Regions from separate parts of the Homo sapiens genome. Here all the other regions are linked to region 5. Evidence: promoter capture Hi-C in 16 types of primary human blood cells and fetal thymus (Javierre and others, 2016). All regions are on one chromosome and are shown on one strand. Each heading gives the region's core, a stretch centred on a gene start or on the middle of the fragment in contact. The rest is flanking DNA. Distances are from core to core; before and after follow the strand shown. Region 1 overlaps AKAP7 (A-kinase anchoring protein 7). Region 2 overlaps AKAP7 (A-kinase anchoring protein 7). Region 3 overlaps AKAP7 (A-kinase anchoring protein 7). Region 4 holds the start of LOC102723445 (a long non-coding RNA gene). Region 5 holds the start of ARG1 (arginase 1). Region 6 overlaps AKAP7 (A-kinase anchoring protein 7).

What was found. The method cuts DNA at HindIII sites, captures the fragments that hold promoters and counts their contacts. A CHiCAGO score of 5 or more calls a contact.
Region 1: a fragment that was not itself captured here is called in contact with the fragment with the promoter of ARG1 in region 5 in 1 of 17 cell types (total CD8 T cells); the score reaches 5.0 in total CD8 T cells.
Region 2: a fragment that was not itself captured here is called in contact with the fragment with the promoter of ARG1 in region 5 in 5 of 17 cell types (naive CD4 T cells, megakaryocytes, activated CD4 T cells and 2 more); the score reaches 7.4 in naive CD4 T cells.
Region 3: a contact is called between a fragment that was not itself captured here and the fragment with the promoter of ARG1 in region 5, in 12 of 17 cell types (naive CD8 T cells, naive CD4 T cells, non-activated CD4 T cells and 9 more). The highest score is 12.6, in naive CD8 T cells.
Region 4: a contact is called between a fragment that was not itself captured here and the fragment with the promoter of ARG1 in region 5, in 8 of 17 cell types (total CD8 T cells, non-activated CD4 T cells, fetal thymus and 5 more). The highest score is 10.3, in total CD8 T cells.
Region 6: a fragment that was not itself captured here is called in contact with the fragment with the promoter of ARG1 in region 5 in 4 of 17 cell types (naive CD4 T cells, naive CD8 T cells, non-activated CD4 T cells and 1 more); the score reaches 7.7 in naive CD4 T cells.

What each region holds. Positions count from the first base shown.
Region 1 is chr6:131,220,512-131,224,228 of GRCh38, forward strand. All of the region lies in intron 7 of AKAP7 (A-kinase anchoring protein 7), which reads left to right. Among named protein-coding and RNA genes, the nearest start is that of AKAP7, 87 kb to the left of the region's middle. The HindIII fragment of the contact is 2,783 bases long and covers 519-3,301 here.
Region 2 is chr6:131,199,465-131,203,228 of GRCh38, forward strand. AKAP7 (A-kinase anchoring protein 7) reads left to right here. Exons shown (of 8, transcript NM_016377.4): 6 at 1-109. Among named protein-coding and RNA genes, the nearest start is that of AKAP7, 66 kb to the left of the region's middle. RefSeq lists enhancers at 476-525, 576-675. The HindIII fragment of the contact is 2,978 bases long and covers 511-3,488 here.
Region 3 is chr6:131,160,709-131,164,730 of GRCh38, forward strand. The region is part of intron 3 of AKAP7 (A-kinase anchoring protein 7); the gene reads left to right. Among named protein-coding and RNA genes, the nearest start is that of AKAP7, 27 kb to the left of the region's middle. RefSeq lists a silencer at 3,328-3,528. The HindIII fragment of the contact is 231 bases long and covers 2,549-2,779 here.
Region 4 is chr6:131,129,034-131,132,678 of GRCh38, forward strand. LOC102723445 (a long non-coding RNA gene) reads right to left here and starts at 1,328. Exons shown (of 4, transcript XR_428022.3): 1 at 982-1,328; 2 at 704-880. It also overlaps a transcript of AKAP7 not described here. The HindIII fragment of the contact is 1,293 bases long and covers 697-1,989 here.
Region 5 is chr6:131,571,874-131,576,058 of GRCh38, forward strand. It overlaps ARG1 (arginase 1), which reads left to right and starts at 1,353. Exons shown (of 8, transcript NM_000045.4): 1 at 1,353-1,466. The coding sequence starts at 1,410. It also overlaps a transcript of MED23 not described here. RefSeq lists an enhancer at 819-1,320. The HindIII fragment of the contact is 9,894 bases long and covers 1-4,185 here.
Region 6 is chr6:131,179,128-131,183,216 of GRCh38, forward strand. The region is part of intron 5 of AKAP7 (A-kinase anchoring protein 7); the gene reads left to right. Among named protein-coding and RNA genes, the nearest start is that of AKAP7, 46 kb to the left of the region's middle. The HindIII fragment of the contact is 7,868 bases long and covers 1-4,089 here.

The DNA of each region.
Region 1 (3,717 bases), core at 660-3,159, 350 kb before region 5:
TGAACTTCAAGACAACCTGATTTATATGCTTTTAAAGTAACATGAAAATACTCAAAGAAGACAAATACATGCATACCTTGTTTTATTGTGCTTTGCTTTATTGTGCTTCACAGATATTGCCTTAAAAAGACAGTTTATTTATTTATTTTTAAGAAATTGAAGGTTTGTAGCAACCCTGTATCAATTGTCTTTCTGGGCCATTTTTTCTAACAGCATGTGCTCTTTTTGTGTCAATTACATTTTGGTAATTCTCACAGTATTTTAGACTTCATTATTATTATATCTGTTATGGTGATCAGTGATCTTTGATGTTATTATCGTTATTGTTTTGGGGCACCACCATATGAATTGTATTCATATAAGATAGCAAACCAAATTGATAAATGTGTGTGTTCCGACTGCTCCACCGAACAGCCATTCATTCCCCTGTGAAGAGTCGTACATCTCTTACCTTAAATCAAAAGCTAGAAATGATACATTGGAAGGACATGCAAGAAAAAAAAAGCTAGAAATGATTAAGCTTAGTGAGGAAGGCATGTCGAAAGATGAAATAATCCGAAAGCTAGGCTTCTTGTACCAGTTAGCCAAGTTGTGAATGCCAAGGAAAAGTTCTTAAAGGAAATTAAAAGTGCTATTCCAGTGAACACACAAATCAAAAGAAAGTGAATTAGCCTTATTGCTGATATGGAAAAAGTTTTAGTGGTCTAGATAGAAGATCAAACCAACTGCAACATTCCCTTAAGCCAAAGCCTGATCCAGTGCGAGGCCCCAACTCTCTTCAGTTCTGTGAAAGGTAAGAAAGGTGAGCAAGGTGCAGAAGAAAAGTTGGAAACCAGCAGAGGCTGGTTCATGAGGTTTAAGGAGAGAAGCTGTCTCCATAACATAAAAGTGCACGGTGAAGCAGAACGTGCTGATACAGAAGCTGCAGCCAGTTATCCAGAAGATCTAGCTAAGGTCGTTGATGAAGGTGGCTGCTCAAAGCAACAGATTTTCAATGTAGACAAAACAGCCTTCTATTGGAAGAAGATGGCATCTAGGAGTTTCATAGCTACAGAAGAGAAGTCAATGTCTGACTTCACAGTTTCAAAGAACAGGCCGACTCTCTTGTGAGGGGCTAATGCAGCTGGTGACTTTTAAGTTGAAGCCAGTGCTCATTGTCCATTCCAAAAATCCTAGGGACCTTAAGAATTATTCTAAATTCAGTCTGTCTATACTTTATAAATGGAACAACGAAGCATGGATGACAGCACATCTGTTAATAGCATGGTTTACTGAGTATTTTAACTACTGCTCAGAAAAAAAAATTCTTTTCAAATGATTACTGCTCATTGACAGTGCACCTTGTCTCCCAAGAACTCTGATGGAAATGTACAAGGAGTTTAGTGTTATTTTCATGCTTGCTAACACAGTGTCCATTCTGCAGCTCATGGATCAAGGAGTAATTTAGACTTTCAAGGCTTATTATTTAAGAAATATTTTTGTAAGGCTATAGCTGCCATGAATAGTGATTATTGTGATAGATATGAGCAAAGCAAATTGAAAACCTTCTGGAAAGGATTCACCATTCTAGATGTCATTAAGAACACTTATGACTCATGGGAGGAAGTCAAAATAGCAACATTAACAGGAGTTTGGAAGAAGTTGATTCCAGCCCTCATGGATGACTTTGAGAAGAGATTCAAGACTGCATTGGAGGAAGTAACTGCAGATGTGATAGAAACAGCAAGAGAATGGCCAGGCGCGGTGGCTCACGCCTGTAATCCCAGTACTTTGGGAGGCCAAGGCGGGCGGATCATAAGGTCAGGAGATCGAGACCATCCTGGCTAACACCGTGAAACCCTGTCTCTACTAAAAATGCAAAAAATACTAGCCGGGCGTGGTGGCGGGCGCCTGTAGTCCCAGCTACTCGGGAGGCTGAGGCAGGAGAATGGTGTGAATCCAGGAGGCGGAGCTTGCAGTGAGCCGAGATCACACCACTGCACTCCAGCCTGGGTGACAAAGTGACACTCATCTCAAAAAAAAAGAAAAAAGAAAAGAAATAGCAAGAGAACTAAAATTAGGAGTGAAGCCTGAAGATGGGATTGAATTGCTGTAATCTCATGATAAAACTTTAGTGGATAATGAGTTGCTTCTTATGAATGAACAAAATAAGTGGTTTCTTGAGATGGAATCTACTCTTGGTAAAGATCCTTAAACATTGTTGAAATGACAACAAAGGATTTAGAATACTACATTAACTTAATTGATAAAACAGTGGCTTTAAAGGGTTTGAGAGAATCAGCTCCAATTTTGAAGAAGTTTTACTGTGGGTAAAATGTTATCAAACAGCATTCCATGCTACAGAGAAATCTTTCATGAAAGGAAGAGTCGATTGATGCAGCAAACTTCATTATTGTCTTATTTTAAGAAATTGCCACAACCACTCGAACCTCCAGCAAGTACTACTCTGATTAGTCAGCAACCATCAACATCAACAGACAAGACCTTCCACCAGCAAAAAGATTATGACTTGCTTAATGCTCAGATGATTGTAAGCATTTTTGGCAATAAAGTGTATTTAAAGTAAAATGTTTACATTTTTTAGATATAATATTGCACATTTAATAGACTGCATATAATGAAACATAATTTTATATGTACTAGGAAACCAAAAAATTCATGTGGCTTGCATTATTGCAATGTTTGCTTTATTGCAATAGTCTGGAACTAACCCATAATACCTCTGAGGTATGCCTGTATATGTAGCTAAATATTGCAAGGTCTTTAACCAAGGTAATTTATCTCCAAATCAGCTGGAAGAACACCTATGGATGTATACATCCTGAAAGAATCTTAATACTGACGTTTATTAAAGCATTTAAAAATGTTCAAGAGACACAATTTTACTTCCAAATTTTCATTAGACATCTTCAGAGGTCCTCATTTTACCTTTCAAAGACTTCAGCTATTTTAAACAGAAGATATTCAGTATGTCGTTTGAATTTTATATTCTGAAACATCTCAAGTCTATTTTAAGGAGAATTTTCATCTTTTCAGAATCTCTGTAAGAGAGCTGTCTTCCATCCAAGTTTTGATGAGGACCAAACATTTCTGTTTAGGTTCATTGTAAATGGAAAACTTAGATACTTCTTGTGTAGGACAGATTTTGGCCAGCTTCCCCTATCTTCTCTGCCAACCTTATAAGGTCTCTTACAAGGCCAACCTTATAAGAATTGCAGTGCCTCATTACCTTTCTCATTCCTGTTAAAAAAATTAGGAATATGTTGATATTGCTGAAAATATTACAGGACTGGCATTATGAAGCTTATATCATAGATTACCTAAATTGACACTGGACAGTTCTATTCAGCCTACCACCCCCCATCACTGTGTTCAAGCCACTGAGATTTCGCTTTCATTGCTCTTTTTCAGTTTATAGTCTTTAAATTTCCCCTTATGTGAGGTAGTTTCTCCAGATCTTTCCATCAAGCTTCTTTATTGCTGTTACACTTTCTAATTCAAAACAATTTTGCCTTTTTCAAACGCTGCCAATCTTGTATCCCCAAGCCAATCATTTCACATTGTTTTAAAAAATGATTTTTGCTTATTACAAATGCTTTCGTGGGTCACATTTGGCGATGACAATATAAACTTTAAAATCATATGTGCATCTAAAGTGATAATTTATTGTTATAATTAACCAAGTTTAATGTACACTAGAGTTCATTTGCTTATAGA
Region 2 (3,764 bases), core at 750-3,249, 370 kb before region 5:
TGCAAATAGGACATTTCAAGAAAAAGGCATCCTGGTAGGAGAGAGCAGAAGTTTTAAACCTCATTTGACCTTCATGAAGTTGTCAAAATCACCGTGGCTCCGTAAGAATGTGAGTGCATGTTCTTATTGCAAGCCTGTTTTACCAGGCCACACCAGCCATAAGCATGGTCTGGAGCACGAGTGACATTGCTGTGGTCTCTGACACTACTCTTGCTTCTGGGTTTCCAAGTCAGGTTGGTTCCAATTCCCAGGGGTGCTGAGGATGCTCCTGGCCTTCCATGGAGGCTATTTCAGCTTTGCCTGCCTTTGCCACGATGGCTGTTCTTGCATAGTCTGGCCATCATTTATTTCTACCACTGTTGCCTCACCTGCTTCATCCCCTGAAGAGCCTCGAGGTGGTGCCAGAGTTCACTTTTGCTGCTATTCTTGCTTGTGGTTATTTGCATCCTGTTGCTCTCAAAGCTTCCTCTGCTGGCCTGTTACGCTGGTGCTGCTCACCGCAACTGGGTAAGCTTTTTTTACCCCTCTTCCTGTCGCTCTTCAAGGTTTCCAAAAGACCATCTTTCAGCAGTTGCCTCAATTAAGGCCTTGGAACCAGGTATACCGGGGACTGGGCATGAGGGTAACTGAGGGACCCCCTTTCCTGGAGGTACTTTAAAGTACTTCTCCCTAAGGATGGTCAACCCAGTGGCACAATCCAAGTGACAAGTCTTTTGACTTCCCCTGTCTCAGGGTGACTTACTGCCTTTATAGGCCACCCCTTCTTCCCGCAGAAGTCGGAGCAACTTTTGACTTCCGTCTAGGTTCATGAGCATTTCTCCTAAAATCCTAAGGCCACCCTTCATTTTGTTTCCTATTTCAGCCTAGGGGGTTCCTCATGCAAATTCAGACATCTGATGGCCTGCTCTCATATACCAGAGTTTTGGAGATGGGCATGCAGATTAATATCCGCTCCCTGCTCTCCATGACCCTTTGCTGCAGTTAAGACTGATTTGCAGCTCTAGAAATGAAGGCCATGTGTAGTAGTAAGTAGAATTTTTTTTTTCTAAATTTGCCACATTTTGTATTTAATGTCTCTGTCCTCAGAAAAGTCTTTTGGGCCCTTTAAATCATGGGTTTGGGTGACTCACCATCCTATAGTTAAGAGTTTTCTACAAACTATTGCTGAAAATCTCAGAAAGATATCTTGCATGGTTTTTTGGATTACATTGCCACAAATTTAGTAATATCCATATTAGGTATCATTCCAGTATCATATTAGGTATGTTAGGTAAAAATAATTGGTGTAAATGATAGATTTTGAAATATGGGATGACAACAATTTACAAAACTTGTAGACTGACAGTTTGATTCTTTACTGGTTATCTTTCTTGTTTTGCTTTCAAATGGATTGTCCTCTTCCAAGTGGTTTCAAACTTAATCACAGAATGACAATCAGTGGTGAAGGTAATATCTCCGTTTCAAAATGTTTCTTTGTCTTTATAATATTAACTTTGAAATGAGAGCACCCAAGGACATTTATTTAAAAAAATGCTTAAACTATATATGTCAACATTTCAAACTGCATTTAAATGATTTATTGGCAGTTAATTTCACAGAATCAATCTTACCCTATAGAAAAGTAATATGAGACTTGGAATGGTTGTGATGTAACTGAGATCACAGTCTTATCAGTTACAGAGCACTGTCTCTGCACCTGAGAAACCCATCCCATCTCATTCTGTCTCACATTCTTCCCTCCCACTGGCCAGCTCCAGTTCACGCAGAGTCATTTCTACGTGTAAGGAGCTCCCTGTTCCAAATCATATTAATTAAGTAAATATGTATTGAGTGCCTACTATGTGCCAGACACTGGGTGCTGGGCACAGAGTGGTGATCAAAATAGAAACAGTCACTGCTTGAATGGTACATAAAATCTAAATCAGATTGCATTTTATTTAGATTAGAATGCTTAATATTTAGAAAACAAATTATGATTGTTTTTTTCTTGTAAATTTGTTTGAGTTCCTTGTAGATTCTGCATATTAGCCCTTTGTCAGATGAGTAGGTTGTGAAAATTTTCTCCTATTTTGTAGGTTGCCTGTTCACTCTGATGGTAGTTTCTTTTGCTGTGCAGAAGCTCTTTAGTTTAATTAGATCCCATTTGTCAATTTTGGCTTTTGTTGCCATTGCTTTTGGTGTTTTAGACATGAAGTCCTTGCCCATGCCTATGTCCTGAATGGTAATGCCTAGGTTTTCTTCTAGGGCTTTTATGGTTTTAGGTCTAATGTTTAAGTCTTTAATCCATCTTGAATTAATTTTTGTATAAGGTGTAAGGAAGGGATCCAGTTTCAGCTTTCTACATATGGCTAGCCAGTTTTCCCAGCACCATTTATTAAATAGGGAATCGTTTCCCCATTGCTTGTTTTTCTCAGGTTTGTCAAAGATCAGATAGTTGTAGATATGCAGCGTTATCAACAAACAACCCTATCAAAAAGTGGGTGAAGGACATGAACAGGCACTTCTCAAAAGAAGACATTTATGCAGCCAAAAAACACATGAAAAAATGGTCACCATCACTGGCCATCAGAGAAATGCAAATCAAAACCACAATGAGATACATCTCACACCAGTTAGAATGGCAGTCATTAAAAAGTCAGGAAACAACAGGTGCTGGAGAGGATGTGGAGAAATAGGAACACTTTTACACTGTTGGTGGGACTGTAAACTAGTTCAACCATTGTGGAAGTCAGTGTGGCCATTCCTCAGGGATCTAGAACTAGAAATACCATTTGACCCAGCCATCCCATTACTGGGTATATACCCAAAGGACTATAAATCATGCTGCTATAAAGACACGTGCACACATATGTTTATTGCGGCACTATTCACAATAGCAAAGACTTGGAACCAACCCAAATGTCCAACAATGATAGACTGGATTAAGAAAATGTGGCACATATACACCATGGAATACTATGCAGCCATAAAAAATGATAAGTTCATGTCCTTTGTAGGGACATGGATGAAATTGGAAATCATCATTCTCAGTAAACTATCGCAAGGACAAAAAACCAAACACTGCAGGTTCTCACTCCTAGGTGGGAATTGAACAATGAGAACACGTGGACACAGGAAGGGGAACATCACACGCTGGGGACTGTTGTGGGATGGGGGAGGGGGGAGGGATAGCTTTAGGAGATATACCTAACGCTAAATGACGAGTTAATGGGTGCAGCACACCAGCATGGCACATGTATACATATGTAACTAACCTGCACATTGTGCACATGTACCCTAAAACTTAAAGTATAATAATAATAAAATAAAATAAAATAAAGAAAACAAATTATGATATTATCATTTTCAGTAAGCCAAATAAGAATTTTTTATTTTAATTTATGGAATGAGTCTATTCCTATCACTATTATAGTGGTCAGTGTTCCTGAAAGTTTAAGGAAGTAGATCTTAGATATGGGGATTCGCAAGTCAGCCGGCGTACTGGTTGAAGCTTCAGATTTCCACCCTCTACCCTTAGATTTAGAGATGGACCTAGGACCTAAGCTTTTGATGTTCAGTAAATGCCATATATGGTTCTGATACAGATGATCTGCAGAGGAATATACTTAAGACCTGCAGGCTTAAATAAATATCCAACAGTTTCTTATGCAGCAAATCTACTGTAAAGGTTAAAACCAGTATGAAAAGGTGGCATACATACAAGATGATTTCATTTATTTACTTTACTATAATTCGTGGTTTGGTATGTAGATTATTTGAAAATA
Region 3 (4,022 bases), core at 1,414-3,913, 410 kb before region 5:
CTTGTTTATTATAGTGATTATTTCAACATAGTTTCTTTAAAAAATTACTCAGTATTGTAACAACTTAATATTGCACCATTAAACTTGGTAAAAATCTATTAAAATCTGAAAAATTAATGCAATAAATAATAGGAAATGGAACTAGCCAGTTAGCTCATACTGAGAAACCCCTGAGAGAGAAAACTACTGCATCTCATTACAACCACTGAAGCGGTGAGGTAGGAATTAAAATCCCTCAGGAAAGAACACCTCACTTGGAAGACTGACTGTTTTTACCCTTTGGCCCAATTACGAGCCAGATTTGAATTTCTGTTTGATTGTGGGTGATAATCTCTTTGACCAGGCACATTTCCACATTGCCTTTCCCCTTGTTTAACTAGAATGTCTCTAGGGAATGCTAACAAATTGTTAAAAATCAAATCAAAATTAAAATGAAAGAAATATCAAAAGAAAAAATAAATTATTTTGGGTCATTCTAGGAAATATCTAGTCTGTGAGACACAGTTTAGCTGGGGAGAAGATATACATAACAAGAGAAGAGTTACCTAGCCATATAAGATTTTAGATTTGATGTACTGAAGAATCATATTCTGATTTTACTGATACATATTTGATTCCTTTGGTTGAGGAATACTTTTTAAAAGTCCTAATAAGGGCCAGGTGTGGTGGCTCATGCCTGTAATCCCAGCACTTTGGGAAGCTGAGGTGGATGGATCCCTCGAGCCCAGGAGTTTGAGACCAGCCTGGGCAACATGGCAAAACCCCATCTTTACTAAATATACAAAAACTAGCTGGGCATGGTGGCTCACACCTGTGGTCCTAGCTACTTGGGAGGCTGAGGTGGGAGGATTGCTTGAGTCCAGGAGGCAGAGGTTGCAGTGAGCCAAGGTTGTGCCACTGCACTCCAGCCTGGGTGACAGAGCCAGACTGTATCTCAAAAAAAAAAAAAAAAAAAAAAAAAAAAAAAAAAAAAAAATTAAAGGTCCTAGTGCAATAGTCATTAAAAGTGTTTAGGCAATACAAAGTTAGTGTAATCAGCAATTATACATTTTATTAAAATACTTGCAAGTTTGGTTTGAAATTTAGGATCACGTATACCTGTGGGGATTAGAAGAGCTCAGGGAGTGAAAGGTGCTGCTGCTTTCATGAGCAGCCAGACAGAAGCCAGGTCCTAAGGACACTGAATGTCAGACAGTTGAAGTGACTTCCCTATGGACACATGATTTGTGATTGGAAGAGAATCCAGGTTCTGTATTTTGATTTGACAGATGTTCGATGAACACCTCTGGGTGTCACTTTCCCTAGGCCGCTCATTTTCTGCTTCTCCCTTCACCTGTATTCCTTACTCCTAGGGGAGACTGAGCAGCATCTCTGCATCACCCCCATGTCTGCCCTCTCTCCCCTCCTAGCTGTGTTATGGCTTCTTACCCCTTCCGGAGAAGACTGATGGGATGATGTGCTGATGGGATAGGGAAGGTGGGGAAGGGGATTGAGAGGAAGGAAGAGAAAAAAATTCTTTCCTTTCACCACTAACTTCTAGGCTTTGCATCACAAAGGTGAAGGGAGAAAGGGGATGAGAGTCCTGTCCGCAGCTTTTAGTTTTCATCCTTTAACCTGCTGTAGCCTTTGTTTCTGCCTCTCTACCCCTGTAAAGTTGTGTAGATGCTGGAAAGAGTGCAGGCTTTGGGTCTGACAGACTTGTTAGTCCCAGCTGAGTCACAGACTCCGCTGCATGTGCAGGTCAGGTTACCTAAATTTTTCAAGTTTCAGTTTGTTCAGGTGTAAAATGAGGTGGGTGATAATACCTCCTTTAGATGACTATTTTTTAAACCCGAATATAGCCGTGTCACCAACCTGCTTATATACTTCAGGATTTTCCCATCGATAGGATAAAGACAACCTCTTTTCCATGTTCTCTGAGGTTTTGTCGTTGTTCGTCTCTCCTTCAGCCCTTGCTTTTTCTGCCCGAGCTCTTCTACCCTTCCTTGGGCTTGCCAGGTTCCCTTGGCCCCAGGAAAAGCCTTCTCTGGCTGGAGCTTTCTCTTTGCTCCTCTTGGTTTTGTTAATGCCGGAATCTCAGCTCAAACCTCTCTACCCATGACCACCTCGTCTAGGTCAACTATCCCTTTCCTTGCCCCATTCCTGTCAGCTAAAGGCTTTCACAGCTTTCTGTATGCCATTTGTCATCCTTGCAACTTGACACTTGTCTTCCTCACAAGGTTTTTAGTGCATGCCCATACCTAGACTGGTGTTTGTTCAAGAGTAGGTGCGCACACATACACGCTCTTTCGCTCTCGCTCTCTCTCTCTCTCTGCTGCTGTTTCATGGCAAAAGCGTGTTTCTGTCATTCCAAGTTATAACCAGAATACTTAAAAATAATAAATACAGTGTAATGGTGGTTTCATAATACAGGTTCAACAGCAGTTACTGGTTTTGGAGGAGGTAGGGTAACTTATAATAGAGGGAAATGCAGGTTTCAAGTGACCTTGAAACCAAATAATGTAATGTTTCCTTTTCAAGAGACTTATTTGTAGTTAATCACTTAGAAAGCTTACATACAAATATGGGGAAGAGATGTAGTCAGGCAAGATTAGGAGTTATATTTTGTATCTTCTACATGAGCACATTTTTGTTTGTTTGTTTTAAAGTGTCTAATGTTAATTTTCTTTTTAAACTACTTATGAGCTTTTGTGGGAAGGCTTGGGAAAAGAATTAGCATTTATAACATTGTTTCAATGGAAGACTGTATTCCAAGTTCCAATTAAGTGACCTGCAAACAAGCTTTTGGAAGCTAGCACATTCACAATGAGTTGCTCTACTTTTGGCCTCTACGTGTTGGCATCTAGTTTTAAAGAAAAAAGTATCCAGAATTCCACTGGTCTTTGATTTTAAACACATTCTTAGAAGTTCGGAATTCTTTATTAGTGGAAAATCTTGATTTCATATTTTAAGCAATAGAATTGGAAAGTGGATTAGGATGGCTGCATACAAATATCCTAATTGGAAGTATATGAAAATATGTGTTTCCATTAACTTTCAATTGCATGTTAGTTTAAAAAGAAAAGAAGAAAACATTTTGATGGGGGTACAGTAAATCCTAAATGTTTCTTAGGTGAGCTCAGATATGGAGGGTGGTTAGACACCAAGGGTGGGGGATTTCTTGAAACTGACATAGCAGCATTCTTGCTCAAACTAAATTCTACAAGGACAGAGAGAGAAGCCCATGGTTAGGCCTAGTCAAGCAGAAGACTTGGAGGGGCCTGACTAAAGTTTTGGTCAAAGGAGAGAGTCTGTCAATGGGAAGTGAGATCCAAGGACAGCATCTCATGATTTGCACAATCACATTCCGCAGATAATGGGAACATTGTTCAGGATAAAACAGCTACTTTGGTATCAGAACAGTTTGCTATGCTCATGAGTCAGTTTTTTCTTATCTCTGCTTTTTTATGGATTCTGCATTGACTGTCAGCCCCCACTCTTTCCCTTTTTTTCTATTGTGCTGCCTCAGGGCTTCTGTCTTCTGTTCCCTTAGGGCTTCTCTGTGCTCTCTTTTCTCTGTTGTTTTTTTTCTGGGTTTGCTATTTTGTATTCAGACTACTTTCAAATGTACTCACATTTAGAAGTTGACTAGAATTGCATCTAACTGGAAGTGGAGGAGGGAAGATGCATCATTCCTCTCCCTGTTTCAGAGGAGCAGGTGCTGAGAGAGGAAGGGAGATGGTGGACCAGGTCTGTGGGGATTTCTCCTGGATGCAGATTCTGTTTTTCTAATGTGTGCATTTGGACTTCTTTGCAACTCTTCATGGTAATGCCCCTCCCCACAGGTATGGAAAAATGACAGTAGTCATTTCTACTGAAATTATTGCTGTCGTAAAAAATCTTAAAGGCCATGAGGAACGGGTTCACAGACACATTCACTTGGAGACAAATAATTATTGCTTCTAACAGAAATGGAATGTTGTCTGCTGGCTTGACCTTTCTGTGGCAAGAATAAAGCCTTATTCTTAGGAAAGATCATAGTT
Region 4 (3,645 bases), core at 93-2,592, 440 kb before region 5:
CCCAGCACTTTGGGAGGCCGAGGTGGGTGGATCACTTGAGGTCAGGAGTTCGGGACCAGCCTAGCCAACATGGTGAAATTTGGTCTCTACTAAAAATACAAAAATTAGCCAGGTGTGGTGTCAGGTGACTGTAGTCCCAGCTACCAGGGAGGCTGAGGCAGGAGAATTGCTTGAACCCGAGAGGCGGAAGTTGCAGTGAGCCAAGATCATGCCACTGCACTCTAGCCTGGGTGACAGAGCAAGACTCTGTCAAAAAAAAAAAAAAATGCATGATTGAAAGAATAATATAAAATATAGAAGAATGCTTAATGACATGAGAAATTAGTCACAATATCTTGTAAAAGACAAAAGTAGCTTATGATGCCATAATGTGACATGATTTCATTTTTATAAAATATATGCTGCAGGAGTATGTGTTTATATGTGTATGTATATCTATGTCTAAAAAGATACAATTATAGATAATTTTACATTTTATTCCATAAGTTTTTCTGAATTTAAAAATATCATAAAACAACATGTTACTTACATAAAATTTTAGATTTGTAGTTAGAAATATTTAAAATAATTTAAAATGTTGCATTCTGTTATTAAATATTATCAGGCCCTTCAACTGTGTCTGACTACTGAAATAAGTCTATTATTAAATAGGTGTAGTGCTTTCTTAAAAATATTATACTCAAACATTAATTGAAAAGCTTACATGTTAAACACATATTCTTCTTCCAGCAAAATGAAATGTCACCCCGAGTTACCTTGGGTCACCAAGGGTCCCAGTTAGCTTTGTACTGATATTTGGCCGTGTCTTGTAGAACTGCATGATGTCATCCTTTTTTGTAACCATTTGCAACTTTAGTTTCTATGGGGACCAAGGAACATCCTAGGGCAAGAATTAAAACAGAGTCAATTGTTTTGGTAGAAATTCACTAGGTCAGGACCGTATCACAGAAGAGAAATGAGGGACCTGAAGAGAGAACTCACCATAAAGAAAGGAGTCGGGCAGGGTGAATGAGTCAATTTAGTAGTAGTTCCTGAAAGTCAGAAATGGGTCATGTTTCAGGAACAGTGTGGCAATCTGAACCTGAACACTTCCCATCCAATTATTTCAGCAATCATTGTACCTTGCCCTCTGGGGGAAATGGGGCAGTGTCTGTAAAGAAACTTGCTGTATCTCAAGGAATTCTGTAATTCTTATAGGTCCCAAAAATCTTCTGTGATGCAGCTCAACCTGCTCTACTCTTAGCAGAGTGTAATGTGTAGGGAGAAGTTGTTCTTTTCTCTTTTTTTGAGATGGAGTTTCACTCTTGTTGCCCAGGCACAATCTTGGCTCACTGCACCTCTGCAACCTCTGCCTCCTGAGTTCGAGCGATTCTCTGCTCCAGCCTCCTGAGTAGCTGGAATTACAGGCATGTGCCGCCACGCCTGGCTAATTTTGTATTGTTAGTAGAGACAGGGTTTTGCCATGTTGGTCAGGCTGGTATCAAACTCCTGACCTCAGGTTGTCCACCCGCTTCGGCCTTCCAAAGTGCTGGGATTACAAGCGTGAGCCACTGTGCCCAGCTGACCTTGTTCTTTTCATTTGCAAGAGATGTCACCATGAAGACTGGGAGAATCCACTGTGGCCAGGTGAATTAGCAGGCAGCTGATGTGCGCGAGGGCAGAGGACTTTCCGGAGTCAAGATTGGACAAATGGAACTCAGTGAAGCAAGGGCTGGGAACAGGTGGTAGCTTAGAATGATTCATTAGATTAGTTTTGCCAGACACCACTTGGAAACCCAAAAGTATTTTGGAGGAATTTCACAAAGGACTGGCGTCTTGGCATGAGTTGGTAGGTTCATTTAGCTATTAAGATTTAGATGTTAATGTTATACTTGCAGTTGGCTTTGCAGGGAAAAAAAGAAAAAAATAGAAATTAAAAAATTTTTAAAAAAGAAAAAACATTTAGATGTTAAAGTTAATGTTGGCTAATTTTTAGCCTTAAGCTGGAGAAGCTTGTTCAGGCGTGAGCAGGTATATGCAAACCTATCCTGAAGGGTTGTGGGAGCTGAGAGGCTGAAGAAAGTGACTGACAAATCCAGTTTTTCAGAAAGAAATATTTAACAGGGTCTTATGAACCAAAGTGACTCTCCAGAGGCCATGAGATTACACATCCTCGCATCCACCCTCCAGAAAGTATTCTAAGACTTGGGCAGTTGGTCCCATCTCAAACTTATGACCACTGGGGAGGTCAGATAAGCATCTTTATGAGGGGTTGTCTATGCTAGATGCTTGGTTTAAAAACCTTGCTGCAGAACACCTTTGCATGCAGGAGCCAGACATTGCTCTTCATGGAGGTTTTGCTTCAAGATGGCGCCACTCTTGCCACGCAACAGGCTGTTTGCCAACAAAACTGTAGGACATTAAGATTACCCGTGATATTGTTTCTCTTTCTTTCTTTTTTTTTTTTTTTTTGAAATTTATCTGGGAGTGCTGCTTTATTTTTTGACAAATCTGAGTACTTAATGGATCTGGATGCTTATAAAAGTTTTATTCATTCATTGAATGTCTATTCATTGAGAAATCTCTATGCATTTGGGAATACGAAGACTTTAAAACATAGTCTTTGCCTTCTAGTGGCGTAAAGTCTAATGTATGAAACAGAAAAATGTGGCAAAAGGGATGGTCAGAGCGGGCACAAGGAGTATTAAAGCCCTCAGGTGGAGTACCTAACCCAAGTAGAAGGGTGGGGTCAGGGACTGTTCCCCAAAGGAGGTCACTGACAGTTCCTACTGATCTTGACCATAGCTGCGGTCCCCTGTGACAGCAGTAGGACAGTTCAATGTACTGATGTGGGAAACAAACTCTATTTAATAACTGCTAAATGGTGCTGAGAATGAGTTAAGGTTAGAGATAATCGGCAAACTGACATAGAGGCTTAAAAATCTTAAAAATCCCTATAGGATGTTTGGTTATTGACAGAACCAGTTAATATTGAAAATCAATTAAATAGATAAATTCGGCCAGGCGCGGTGGGTCACAACTGTAATCCCAGCACTTTGGGAGGCCGAGGCGGGCGGATCATGAGGTCAGGAGATCGAGACCATCTTGGCTAACATAGTGAAACCCCGTCTCTACTAAAAAATACAAAAAATTAGCCGGGCGTGGTGGCGGGCGCCTGTGGTCCCATCTACTCGGGAAGTAGAGCAGGGAGAATGGCGGGAACCCGGGAGGCGGAGCTTGCAGTGAGCCGAGATTGCGCCACCGCACTCCAGCCTGGGCGACAGAGCGAGATTCCGTCTCAGAAAAAAAAAAAAAAGATGAATTCATAGGTATTAATTTGTTTTATGAAAGCAAAAAAGAACCAGGTTGCCCAATGCTTTAACGAAGGTTCACCTGCAGCACGACTCATGAGGGCATGGATCCTCTGGTCCACACTTCCCTCTCCCTCCGTATGTTCTGCCCATTCCTCCCTGACTATTAGTACACAGCCCTTTTCTCCCCAGAGGACAATATACACTGGCACAGTGCCAAAACAACTGGATTGGAAGGGTTTAGTTTTAAGCTACCACACTGTTCCTGGACCACAACACCCCACCGAGATTTTGAAAAGCCTGAGCCAATTATTTTCTAGAATGTCACACATTCTGGATTGGTCTGATTCTTTCC
Region 5 (4,185 bases), core at 103-2,602:
GGGAAAAGTTATTTGCAATGTCAATGCTATAAGGTTAATATCTAGGCAATATGAGGAATACCACAAGTAAATATTTAGGATATACAAGCAAACCCACAAGAAAAAGGTAGGAAACCTATTTGGAAAACAGTCCTATCAAAATGGACCCATGAGACTTTGGTTTCCTCATTTATCCATTCAATAAATATTTATTGAGTGCCTATTATACACCAACACTCTTCTAGGCCCTGGGGATACAGCAGACAAAATTCTCTGACCTCATGGAATTTAAATTCCAAAATGTTCTTTCCCACCAATAGGAAAAAGAAATTAGTTTCTACTAAGTGAATTTTCCCTTTAAATTACAATTACATAATTTTAAAGTCGGAAGGATCTTTAAGGTGCCTTTATTTTAAATTCATACTTTTGTATGGTGACAAATGGTAGCTCAGGGGCATAGAGGTTGACACCTTCCCAGCATTTAGACTATAAGCTCGACGGTTAAGTGGATTCAGAATGGCAGAGACTAAATCCCGACTTTTCTTCTACAGCCTATGTTGGCAACGGGTCTGAGCTTCAGTTTATTCATCAGTATAATGGCACCAATGATGAGACTTCACATAAAATTGGTATAAATATAAATATGGTATTTTGAAACAGAACTGCATCGGACACATGGTAAAAACTCAATGTTAGCTATTTTTATTTCTATACTTTGATTATGATATGATTCTACAATTATTTTCCTGTACACCATACTTCAAAAATGGTAACCTCTCTGGGTTACCAATCAAGTAACTAATTTTTTAAAGTAATCATCAAAAAAGGAAGTTATATACTCTTTATTATATTATACCCTAAAAGTTTATGAAATGTGTCTCATGGATTAACCATTTACCCTCATGTGTGAAATCTCAACTCAGGATTTTAGGGCTGGAAGGGATGTGACAGACGATCTTGCCAAGCCCGGCCCTTCTTCTACAAGGACGTCTTCAGAGATCTGGAGGAGGAAAGGGCCTTGCCCTGAGTTCGCTGAGCCAGAACAATAGGACTTCTTCTGTAGTTGTGAAACTTGTCAGTTGTTGAAGTCAGGTTAATGTCATCTGGCTGGCTTTTTAAAAGGGTGTGAAGTGAGAACATGAATAATTGTCACTTGATTAGAGACCTAGACTCAGAGTTAGGTTACTCCATGTATGAAGTAACCCCATATAGTTACTTCATACATGGAGTAACCATATAGTTACTCCATGTATGAAAAATTGCAAGACTGTTGACTGTCATTCTTTGGTTTAGTGGGTGGAGCCAGCTGTCCTCATTAGATAAAGGTTGTTTATTCAACCCAAGTATAAATGGAAAAAAAAGATGCGCCCTCTGTCACTGAGGGTTGACTGACTGGAGAGCTCAAGTGCAGCAAAGAGAAGTGTCAGAGCATGAGCGCCAAGTCCAGAACCATAGGGATTATTGGAGCTCCTTTCTCAAAGGGACAGGTAAGGAAAAAAGTCTTTCTTTGAATTCCTGGAATTTAGTTGAAAATTTTGGACTTCAAAATTTGTAAGGTGTTATTGTCTAGTTAGTTCAGTTTTCTGATACAATCTGGCCAGGAAATGCATATTTTAAAGTCCTCTCACCATTTTCCAACATTGTATAATTATAGTCACATATCCACTTACTTTTGTGGCTCGTGATCTCAGCCAAGGCTAAATTCATTTGAACCTACAGAATGTTTTCTCATATTTTTTAGGAGAAAATATTTTTCTTTGAATTGAAATGGACTCTTTCTGCATTGTAGCTACTCATTGAGGTTTAGTTGCTCTTGTTGTTTTTGATGTTACTGTGTGTATGTAGAGGAAGAGAGAATTTTAAGAAATACATTTGTTTAGTTATGTAATTAATGCCTAGAAAAATTTAATAGTTTGGTGGTAACCTTCAGGCTTCTTATAATTTGGATAACCTAAATATTATTGTTTCATGCAACTTTGTGAATAATTCATGTTATGTTAGGGTTTTAATGTTTCTATGAAACTGTTCATTCATGGACTAGGTAGAATCCTTTATGTGCCTCACTTGGAAGGGGAAAAAAAGAACAAAAAAAGAAAGAAAATCCTACTGCGGGTTGGCAACTCTAAAAGGATTTTAATGGATTTATGAAACCCCCAGATTTCCTTACAGCCACGAGCTGTGAATCCACACATGCCAGCAACATTGAATACACTTTTTTTTCTGCCTGGGCACACTTATTCTAGTAAAGAGAGTGTGATGACAGAACACCTTAGACTTCAACACGCATCTGTGCTTAAAGAGGATAAAAAACAAAGAACAAAATCAAACAAGACAATGTATGAGTTGAAACTACTAAGGTTGATTTTCTCCAGGTTTCTCAGGATCTGGGCAGCGTTTTGCTTCCTCTTAATTTGGAACCCTTGCTGTGTACTCTGACTTTTTACTGCAAAACAAATTGAGAGAGGCCAGAGGTTAGAGGCCCAAACTGCATTTGGACTGTCAGTAAATACTACTTTGCTTCCCCTGGAAATCCTCCAAAAGTCTCTCCCAAACACAGGGACATTTTGCTGACACAGAAATGTTCCTTTTAAAATCCACACTGTTCTCACCCACTCTTGAACAGGTTATAATAAATATATAATTTAAAAACCTCACAAAAGGGAAGCAAGTGTCCTCCTTCTACCACCCTCCTCCCATTAAAACATGGTCATGAGAATGGAGTTCATTGTCTCATGATTGTAAGGACTAAGAGAGAGAGATTTTTTACACTAAGTCATAGAGTAGAGAGGATAAAATGGCCAACATATAAGTATTTGTCCTCACCTAAAGGAGGTACAAGTTTGACAAATAAGCAAAAGGAAAGGATTAGAGGGCAGATGACTAAAATGTTGAGTCTGAGAAAGGGCTTCATCCCTGTCTCACCTCCTTGAAAGGCTTGCAAGGCAGCGAACAAACAATAAGGTAGGTATTATTTTTACCTTACAGTTGGGTTAAAAAAAAGCCCAGAGAGGTTTGGTAATGTGCTCAACGTCACACAGCCTTGACTGCATAATTCCAGACAAGATAATCTGATTCCAATGCCTATGCCCTTGATTTGCACTGATGTCTCTTCAGACTATTCAACTCCAAAGGCGACCTTATACTTGTGGCCATTTAGGGATTGGGCCCAGCTTAGAAAGTCGGTGGAGCTGACAAAGCAATTTCCAAAGTGGGCAGATAGAGCAAGCAAGAGGAAAGCCCAATCATGAGAAGCCATTTGAATAAAACAAATAAAAAAGAATTCTAGAAAATTTAATGGCTGTGTTATAGCAAATATAGTGTCAACTAAGGGGTCTATGAGCTTTGTTCTAAAATATGAAAGGGAGAAGGGTAAAAAAGCCAAGGAGTTTTATCAAACTGAGTATTGAGTATCTACTATATGTCAGCTCTACACTACAAAATATAGTGCCCCACATGTAAAGCAAGCTGGACTGAAATCTAACAATGAGGAAAAGACAAAAACAGACACAAAACTAAAGGCAAAACATGAACCAAGCAGCACCCTATTGGGGTTGAAAGAAGGAGAAATCATGTTTACTTGATTGGGGAGAGGCAGGTGTGTCAAGCAAAAAGGGAGTAAAGAAGCAAAATGTGTCAGGCAGAGGATAGGGCGGGTCCCTTGCTGCCAGGGACAGGAATTTAACATCAAGGATTTGCCTGGCACCCAGGGCAAGTCTTCTGTTCCTTTGAATGGGGAAAAAATACTTGCTTACTTTGATGCCACAGCCCCAATCCTAAAGATAGACACACGTGTCTTTTAACACATTGTCTCATCTGACAACATGTAATAATCTTCTGCATCTAAAAGCTCTGTTGGAAATTAAAATCAGAAAGATACAGAAAGGAACTGTGCCTTTAGACCTCTAATTGTTCAGGGGACTGAGGAAGACTTGCCCCTTGGAGGAAGAGTGTTAGTTTCCCTAATGTCAAAACGGCAAGGGTAGAACTTCCCATCATACTGTTAAGCAGGCCAAAACTTGAAATTACTGGGTTGGTCTTTGTTTGTAGTTTTCAGCTCCCAGATGATGACTTTTTCTGTTGCCTGCTTTCTCCCCAAGAGCTCTAGCTTACTTATGTGAGTACATGCACGTAGGTCTCTTTCATGTCACACTCTTTCGATGCTTTTGCCCAATCGTTCCCTTGGTTTGCAGAGTTTCTCCATCACTC
Region 6 (4,089 bases), core at 44-2,543, 390 kb before region 5:
AGGTCTCATCACAGGTTGTGATTACCTTATTGTCTATTCGGTTTTTTTTTTGTTTGTTTGTTTTGAGATGGAGTCTCGCCCTGTTGCCCAGGCTGGAGTGCAGTTGCACAATCTTGGCTCACCACAACTTCTGCCTCCTGGGTTCAAGTGATTCTCCTGTCTCAGCCTCCCGAGTAGCTGGGATTACAGGTGCCTGCCACCACACCCAGCTAAGTTTTGTGTTTATAGTAGAGACGGAGTTTCTCCATGTTGGCCAGGCTGGTCTCAAACTCCTGACCTCAAGTGATCTGCCTGCCTGGGCCTCCCAAAGTGCTGAGATTACAGGCGTGAGCCACCGTGCCTGGCCCGTTATTGTCTATTTGATTGACTATCTTTGTGGCTAGATTAGGCTCCACGAGGGCCAGGACCATGACTGTTTTGGTCACTAGTGTATACCCAGTACTGTCTATAATGTGTGACACATAAAACGCGTTAAGGCTCACATAATCCCAGCACTCTGGGGGCCTGAGGAGGGAAGATTGCTTGAGCTCAGCGGTTTAAGACCAGCCTAGGCAACATAGTGAGACTTTGTTTCTACAAAAGATAGAAAAAAATTACCTTGGCATGATGGTGCATGCCTTGATTCCAGCTACTTAGATGGCTGAGGTGGAAGGATTGCTTGAGTCTGGGAGGGCGAGGCTGCAGCGAGCTGTGAATATGCCACCATACTCCAGCCTGGGTGACAGAAAAAGACCCTGTCTCAAATAAATAAATAAATAAATAAATAAATAATAAATAAATAAATAAGTTGTTAATAAGTATTCATCAAAAGAATGAGAAAATGAAGAAATCACACAGTCATGTAGGTTGGCTCTCCTGCAAATGTATGTTTTCCACACTCAGAGCCTTGGCTCGGCAGGTCCACTGCTTCTGCTCAGTTTTCCTCATGTCTGCTGTTGCTGCCCCAGCCCCCTGTTTGGAGCAACTATAACCTTCTACCCCTCTCTCAGCAGATGGCACTGAGGCTGGGATCTGCTCACTTCAAGTCCCTGTGCTTGGTGAACCTATCTGCTACTGCATTTGGCTTTTAAATTCTCATACAGTTTTGGGAAAAGAGGTGTCCTTTATCTAGTTAAGACTAACCCCTTCAGCTGTGTTCTTGGTCTGCTGGACTCAACCAGGATCTTGCTGTACCAGTTACTTCTTCCCTCTCTGTGCTTCTGTGTTTTCAACCCTTTGTCTTTATTACCTCCTTTCCCCCAACTTTACTTGCTCAATAACACCTTTCCTATCCCTAAACAAACAAAAAACAAAGTTAAAAAATCCTAAGAATTAGCTACAGAAAAATCTCTTGATCTTGAATCTCCTGCTAGCTTCTTCATTGTACCTTTCCTACTCAGAATCTTTAAAAGAGTTGCCTGTATTCTCTGTACCTTTCCTACCTAGAATCTTTAAAATTTAAAAATCTTCATTGTACCTTTCCTATCCAGAATCTTTAAAAGAGTTGCCTGCATTATCTGTCTTTAGTTCATTACTGTCCTTTTCTCAAACCTCCTGCGGTCAGTAGGCTATGGCCTACTTCACTGCATGCCACATCGTGGGCCCCTGATAGCTTTGTAATTGCTGAATCTAACGAATGCTCTAGATTTATTCATACAACTGAGGACTCCCTTCTTTAAATTCTCCTTTTGGTTTCTGAGACACCACTTTCTTTTTTTGTTTGTTTTGTTTTTTTTTTTTTTAATACTTCTCTCAATGTATCTTCTCAGCTTTCTTCATTAGCTTATCTCTTTTTTCTTTAAGCATTTATATTTTTAGATTTCTGGACCTGACTCTCTGTTTAACTATGTTTCTCTTTTTTTTGAAATGGAGTCTCACTCTGTTGCCTAGGCTGGAGTGCAGTGGCACTGTCTCAGCCTCCTGGGTTCAAGCAATTCTCCTGCCTCAGCCTCCTGAGTAGCTGGGATTACAGGCGCCTGCCACCATGCCTGGCTAATTTTTGTATTTTTAGTAGAGACAGGGTTTCACCATGTTGGCCAGGCTGGTATCAAACTCCTGACCTCAGGTGATCTGCCTGCCTCGGCCTCCCAAAATGCTGGGATTACAGGTGTGAGCCACCGCGCCTGGCCCCATGTTTCACTTTTTGTATTTACCATCATGGTCAATCTCCCTACTCTTCCACCAGGAACATCAAGAAATGTAGGTGTCATCCTAAACCCCAGCATCAGTCATTTTAGATATTCATAGTCATCAAATGCTGTAAATTTTCTGTCTTAAATATCACTCCCATTCGTTCCCTACTTTCTGTTCCTATTGCTGTGCCTCAGTCCAAGCTCTGTTCATCTTTCACCCATTCTACTGCAATAGTCTCCTGGTCTACAGTCTGCCGCTTTGCTTCCAGACTCTTTTTCTAAAGCACAAAACTAAGCATTTTTATGCTCCCTGCTTAAAAGAATTTATTGACTTACTGTTGGATCTAGGATAAAATCTATTCTTCTTGCTGTGTCATTTAAGATTCTCAGCTTCTTGATTCTTGCCTGTGTATTTAGCCTTATTTCTTGTGTTGTCCATGCTGCACCCATTGTTTAAGATATGCTGAACTACTTAGAGGTCCCCTGAGGCACTGGGCCATGTCATGTCTTCATGCCTTAGTTGACGCTGCTGCCATCCCATGGAAACTTTTACATTCTTCACATGATCAGACAACAGCCACTGATCTTTTTTATTTAAAAAAAAAATTAGTTTTGGCTGGACATGCTGTAATCCTAGTACTTTGGAAGGCTGAGGCGGGTAGATCACTTGAGGTTAGGAGTTTGAAACCAGCCTGGCCAACATAGTGAAACTCCATCTCTACTAAAAATACAAAAACATTAGCCAGGCATGGTGGTGGGTACCTGTGATCTCACCTGCTCAGGAGGCTGAGGCAGGGGAATCGCATGAACCCAAGAGGCAGCGGTTGTAGTGAGCTGAGATGGCACCAATGTACTCCAGCCTGGGTGACAGAGCAAGAGTCCGTCTGAAAAAAAAAATAATTTTTAACTATAGTAAAATACATATAATATGAAATTTACCATCTTAACTTTTTTTAAACACATAGTTCAGTAGTGTTAAGTATATTCACATTATTGTGCAACCAATCTACGGAATCTTTTTATTCTTGCAAAATGGAAACTCCATACCCATGAAAAACAAATCCTCACTCCCTCCTTCCCCTGGCTTCTGGCGACCACCATTCTACTTTCTGTCTCTATGAATTTGACTGTGTAGCTGCCTCATAGAAGTGAAATCATGTAGTATTTATCTTTTTGTGACTGGCTGATTTCACTTAACATAACGTCCTTAAGGTTCATCCATGCTGTATCATGTCAGAACTTTATTCCTTTTTAATGCTTTATAATATTCCGTGGTATATGTACATACCACATTTTGCTTATCTTGTTATCTGTTGATGGGTTTGTTGATGGACTCTTGGCTATTGTGAATAATGCAGCTATGAACATGGATGTATAAATATCTCTTCAAGACCTTGAGTTCAGATCTTTTGGATATGTAACCAGAAGTGGAATTGCTAAATCATATGGTAGTTTAATTTTTAATTTTTTGAGGAACTGTCTTAATGTTTTCTATAGCAGCTGGACTATTTTACATTCCCACCAGCAGTGTACTAGGGCTCCAACACTTGTTATTTTCTATTTTTTTGATAATGGCCCTTTTTTTTTAACCCAAATTTTGTATTGATCAAAACAGCTTCATCGTTCTTTATAACAAAGAATTGTTGTAAACTTGAATTTATGTAACTAATTAAAACTAGCAAAATAACCAATTTTATATTCGCTTTACATATTGGAGTTCAACAAAAAAAATTTAATTTTGGGGGAAAAAAAGCTGTATTTCAAAATGTTTAAAAAAACCACCGTCATGGAAATCTTAGGATGAAAAGGCCTTCTTAATGGAGAGAGGCAGGAGATAAACCATCCAGCAGAGGGCTCTGTGTAAAAACGTTTATGTTTACTGATGTTTAGAATACAGGAACTAACGAAAGGAAAAAAAAGACAACTTCAAAGTGACAGTGAGTTAGGGCCTGCCTGCGGCCAAGGGGGAAGGCTACTC